2 separate regions of the Homo sapiens genome follow, and region 1 is linked to region 2. The links are contacts of gene promoters, found by promoter capture Hi-C in human tissues and cell types (Jung and others, 2019). All regions are on one chromosome and are shown on one strand. Each heading gives the region's core, a stretch centred on a gene start or on the middle of the fragment in contact. The rest is flanking DNA. Distances are from core to core; before and after follow the strand shown.

The links. Contacts are between HindIII fragments. The study calls those that stand out against the background at their distance.
Region 1: a contact is called between a fragment that was not itself captured here and the fragment with the promoter of AS3MT in region 2, in 1 of the 25 tissues and cell types used here (liver).

The regions. Positions count from the first base shown.
Region 1 is chr10:103,030,832-103,033,531 of GRCh38, reverse strand. The region is part of intron 1 of CNNM2 (cyclin and CBS domain divalent metal cation transport mediator 2); the gene reads right to left. Among named protein-coding and RNA genes, the nearest start is that of CNNM2, 110 kb to the right of the region's middle. The HindIII fragment of the contact is 3,923 bases long and covers 1-2,700 here.
Region 2 is chr10:102,868,045-102,870,744 of GRCh38, reverse strand. It overlaps AS3MT (arsenite methyltransferase), which reads right to left and starts at 1,275. Exons shown (of 11, transcript NM_020682.4): 1 at 1,152-1,275; 2 at 900-940; 3 at 534-661. The coding sequence starts at 1,152. BORCS7-ASMT (BORCS7-ASMT readthrough (NMD candidate)) reads right to left here. Exons shown (of 15, transcript NR_037644.1): 6 at 900-940; 7 at 534-661. It also overlaps the pseudogene LOC124902567. The HindIII fragment of the contact is 5,936 bases long and covers 1-2,700 here.

The DNA of each region.
Region 1 (2,700 bases), core at 171-2,670, 160 kb before region 2:
TTTCTTCACCAGAAGCTTTTTAAAAAAAACCTTAGATTGTCCAGGCGTGGTGGCTCACGCCTATTTGTAATCCCAGCACTTTGGGAGGCCAAGGCAGGCAGATCAGGAGGTCTGGAGATTGAGACTGTCCTGGCTAACACAGTGAAACCCCGTCTCTACTAAAAAATACAATAAAATTAAGTGGGCCTGGTGGTGGGCGCCTGTAGTCCCAACTACTCGGGAGGCTGAGGCAGGAGAATTGCTTGAACCTGGGAGGCGGAGGTTGCAGTGAGCTGAGATCATGCCATTGTACTCCAGCCTGTGTGACAAAGCAAGACTCCATCTCAAAAACATAAAAATAAAAATAAAATAAATTTAAAAAATGTATAGAAGACAAAAATTAGTTTTTCTGTTTTTCTTTTCTTTTTTTTTTTTTGGACAGGGTCTTACTCTGTCACTCAGGCTAGAGTGCAGTGGCATGATCATGGCTCACTACAACCTCCACCTCTTGGGTTCATGTGATTCTCCTGCCTCAGCCTCATAAGTAGCTGGGATTACAGGCATGGGTAGCCACATCTGGCTAATTTTTGTATCTTTTGTAGTGACAGGGTTTCACCATGTTGCCCAGGCTGGTCTCAAACTCTTAAGCTCAAGCAATCCATCCACCTCAGCCTCCCAAAGTGTTGGGATTACAGACGTGAGCCACCACACTCAGCTAAGTTTTTATATTTCTATAAGAAAAAAGTCACCACCTAAACATCCACGATAAAGCCCCGTTAAGTAAATTCTACAATATCCACACTAGAATGCTATGCAGCTAGCGTGGATATAGTAGGATTCTATCAGCAATAGAATGCTATGCAGCTATTTAAAAAAAAAAAAAAAAAAAAAGAGCTACATCAATTGTTATGAAAGGCTACTCTAAAAAAAAGTCATGTAGAATATTATAGTATGTTCCCATTTGTATTCATTGTAATTAATTGCATTAATCATAATTATATATAGAAAACTCTAGAAACAAATGTTAACAGTGGCATTCTGGATGAAATTTGCAGTACTGTTAAAAATTTGCATTCTACAGGGTAATTCTTTTTTTCTTTTTGAGATGGAGTCTCACTCTGTCCCCCAGGTTGGAGTGCGGTGGGGTGATCTCGGCTCGCTGCAACCTCCATCTCCCAGGTTCAAGCGATTCTCCTGCCTCAGCCTCCTGAGTAGCTGGAATTACAGATGTGCACCATCACGCCCAGCTGTTTTTTGTCTTTTTTAGTAGAGATGGGGTTTCACCATGTTGGCCAGGCTGGTCTTGAACTCCTGACCTCAGGTGATCCACCTGCCTCGGCCTCCCAAAGTGCTGGGATTACAGGCATGAGTCACCGTACCCGGCCCCTAATGTATATATTTCTAACAAGAGAAAATGTGTATTTCAACCAGGGATCAAGGGGAATAGGGTCCTCTGACAGTGTTGGACACCTCTAAAAAGCCACTTCCAACCCCCTAGGCCCCAGTGCTCACTCCCTCCACTGCCGCAGTGACTAGTTCACGCAGGCTTGCAGTGGCTTCATGCTCGTGCATCAGTGCAGGCAGACACTGCCTCATTGCTAATGCTCAATATTTCACTTCCTGCCTTAGGATTTCTCTTGAAACTTATTCTGCAGTTATGCATATGCAAACAAGAGGGAGAAATCAACGGGATAAATCCCCTCACGCCCCCCCCGCATTTTGTACTTAAGCAGACAGTTCTGAGAGCATTCCATTCCATAGGTTCCTAAAAAGGTTCTAGTGGAATTGAACACCTGCTGCCTAGGCGCTATCAGATCCTTAAATTTTCTTTCCCTCCTTCTCATTTCACTTTCCTTGTCCTGAACTCCTGCTTCCTGGGACTGCACTCCATATAAACTTCCCTGCATGCAAGTCTTTCTACCAGGCTGATGTTCAGGCTAAGACATCGGGTGAGTGGAAAGTTTTTCCACCAGCCACTTTTTGGTTTCACACATTTCATGCTCTTCTACTTGCAGATTCCAGTGCCAGATGTGTTAGAACACACTCCTGTCTCAATACAATGCAGGGCTTGTACCTTTGAGTGACATCCACATTGTTGGATATCATTTATGCAGTGAGATGGCCACCAATAACTATACATCAAAGTGACTGCAACCACAGAGATATATCCCAGTAAACTCAAACAAAGTGTATATCCACAGCTTAACTTTCCCACAGCTGAATCCCAAAAATGCTTGGGACCACTCCAACATTGCCACACACAAGAGTAAGAGAGGGTAACTCAATGTGGAAAGAGTAATTTTGGCCCACAGTAAACTTTCCGATTTTTCAAAATTTACAAATACACATAAACATGTAAAACTTGCTAGGGGTCTTCCCAGGGCCTTGGAAGCAGCCCACACATCTGAGCACTTAAGCTTTAGCTTCATTAGCTTTGTGGTAATATGCTTTTCACGATGCACTAATTGAGTAACTACAACAAAGGGAGCATAAAGCACAGACTGAAAACCCTAAAATCTACATACTCCACCATCCCAGTCTCATCTAAACCTCAGATATAAAAATATTCCATCTGTCCATCTGGTCCTCCTCCTCCTCTTGTCCAATAAGCATCTTAAGTTCAACATGTCCAAAACTAAACCTATCATCTTCTTCACAAAACCTGTTTCCCTGCTTCTAATCCTTATACTAATGACATCTGTAAAGGTCAAATGTGAAACT
Region 2 (2,700 bases), core at 26-2,525:
GCCGGCTGGGCAGGCAGTGCTGATGGAGTGAGGAAGGGAAGGGTCAAAAGGGCCAAGGTTGATTAGTGGGTGCTGAACTGCGCATATCTTGAATGGCAGATCCAGTGAGTGTGACTGTATTCTGTGAGCATGGGTAGGGACTACAGAGTGTTCACGCTGGAGGTTCTTTTTTTTAGGCAATTTTTTTAAAGTACGCATTTATTTTAGAGATGCATCTGGCTATGTTGACCAAGCTGGAGTGCAGTGGCTATTCACATCCCGGATCGCACACTACAGCCTGTAACTTCTGGGCTCACGCGATCCTCTGCCTCAGCCTCCCAAGCACTTGGGACTACAGGCTCACTGGCGCGCCCAGACTCATCGGAGGTTCTTAGAGCAGTAAGATGATGGGTGCTGAGATTTAGGATTTTTACAATAGACAAGGCAAGCTGATGGGTTGGTGGCTACGGGTTAATTCCCTAGTGACCTGCATCATTATCTTTTGGGAAAACTGCTGTTTGGGGTCTTCCTGGGGACAGCACAGGGCACTCTACCTTAGGGCTACTTCTTCGTGTACATTTTGCAAGGCTTCCCGGATGTGCTTGGGGACCGGCCTGGCTGTGGTGACACAGCCGTTGGTCTGGAGGTCTGCCGATCTCTTCAGCACCTGCCCGTAGTAGGTCTGACCCAGCGTCCCACAGTGGAGTGAGGGGTAGAGAGGGAGAAGAGCTGTGACTGCAGCGCGAGGGCTCCGTCACCACCTCCACCTCCACTTGGCCGACCTCAGTTCCCTGGAAAGGTCGAAGCCTAGACCCTGCCCTACCCCGACTCCAGGAGTCCCGGGGGACAGGGTGCGGGCCAGGCCAGACTTCCATTAGCCTAGGCTCCACTTGGGCCATTCCAGGCCCTACAGCTCTCACCTGCACGTCCTTCTGTATCTCAGCGTCACGAAGTGCAGCCACTGTCGGGAGCGGGAAAGTTAGTTGAAAGGAGAGGGTGCTGAGGGACGGGCATGAGGGAGGGGGCCAGTAAAGGGCAGGCAGCGGGCCGAGGGGTGAGGGGAGGACAAAGGTCTCGAGACACAGCTCGGGGGAGGCGCTCGCGTTCCCGCCTTGCGGGGGCCCAGGGAAGGGGCTGGGGGCTGGGGCGGGGCGCCCAGGGCGCGCACTCACTGTCTCCTCGGCCTGCGACTCAGGGCGCGCACTCACTGTCTCCTCGGCCTGCGACTCAGGGCGCGCACTCACTGTCTCCTCGGCCTGCGACTCAGGACGGCGGGCTCCCGCAGCCAGCTCCTGTGCCGAGGCCCCGCCCAGGCTGGCAGGCTTGCTCCGCCCGCCCATCCCGCTCTAGCCCCTCGCTCAGGCGCCCACCGCCTGACCCGCTGTTCCACTGTCATCCGCGCTGCTCTACAGGCTTTCCAACCAGGAGGTCGGTATCAGCATCCCCCTTGTTCGCTCCACTGCGATTTTCACGGATAAATCTCGTACTCTGATTTAAATGAACACTCACCTATATAATGATCTTCCCCCCTCCCCCTTTTTGGGAATAGAATCATCTTTTCTCGATCTGTTTTTTGAAGTCAAGTTTGTTGAGATATAATTCACATTCCGTGAAATCCATCTTTCTTCAGTGTGCAGTTCTGTGAACTCTGGCAAACGTATATACATCACCAAAACGGAGACCAAAATAGCTCTGGCCCACAAGTTTCTTCGTGCCTCTTTGTAGTAAATTCCCTCTTCCCACCCCTAGCTCCTGGGCAACCACAGATGTTTTCCCTCCCTATAGTTCTGCCTTTTCTAGAATGTCACATAGAGGGAACCATTAACAGTATGTAGCTGTTCCCAGTCTATTTTGGGTTGTATTTAGGAAAGCAACTTTGCTAAATTTATTTTCACCTATAGTAATTTTTGGTCAAGTCACATGTATTTTCCAGGTATTGTCACTTCATCTTGCAGAAAGTTTTTTTTTTAATTTTTAAATTTTTTTGAGACGGTCTCTGTTACCCAGGCCCAACCTCCTGGCTCAAGCGATCCTCCCGCCTCAGCCTCCCAAGTACCTTGGATTACAGGCGTGCACCACCACACCTGGTTAATTTTTGTATTTTTTTATAGAGACGGGATTTCACCATGTTGTCCAGGCTGGTCTCCAACTCCTGGGTTCAAGCAATCCGCCCGCCTCAGCCTCCCAAAGTGTTTGGATTACAGGCATGAGCCACAGTGCCAGGCCCAAAAGTATTTTTTGTTTTTTTAAATATGGAACACTTCACGAATTTGTATGTCATCTTGCGCAGGGGCCATGCAAATCTTCTCTATCATTCCAACTATATGTGCTGCCGAAGCGAGCACCCAAAAGTATTTTTAAATTATTTATTTTTACTTCCACAATTATATGTGTATATCTTGTTTCCCTTTGTGGTTGTAACAAGCATTTCTCTTTTTATAATTTAAATTAAAAAAAAATTTTTAGAGACAGGGTCTCAACTCTGTGGCCCAAGCTTAGCGTCACTGCGCAATCATCTCTGGATCCTTCAACTCTGGCCTCAAGCCATCCTCCCTCCTCAGCCTCCCCAGTAGCTGGGACTACAGGTGCAAGCCACCATGCCCAGCTTGTAACGATCATTTCTATTCATTAGGACAGTAAGGAAACAGGGAGATCCAAGTGAAAGGATATCTAAATGGATGAAGTAGACTCTTTCATTCATTTTTCAATCTCAGTTGCCAA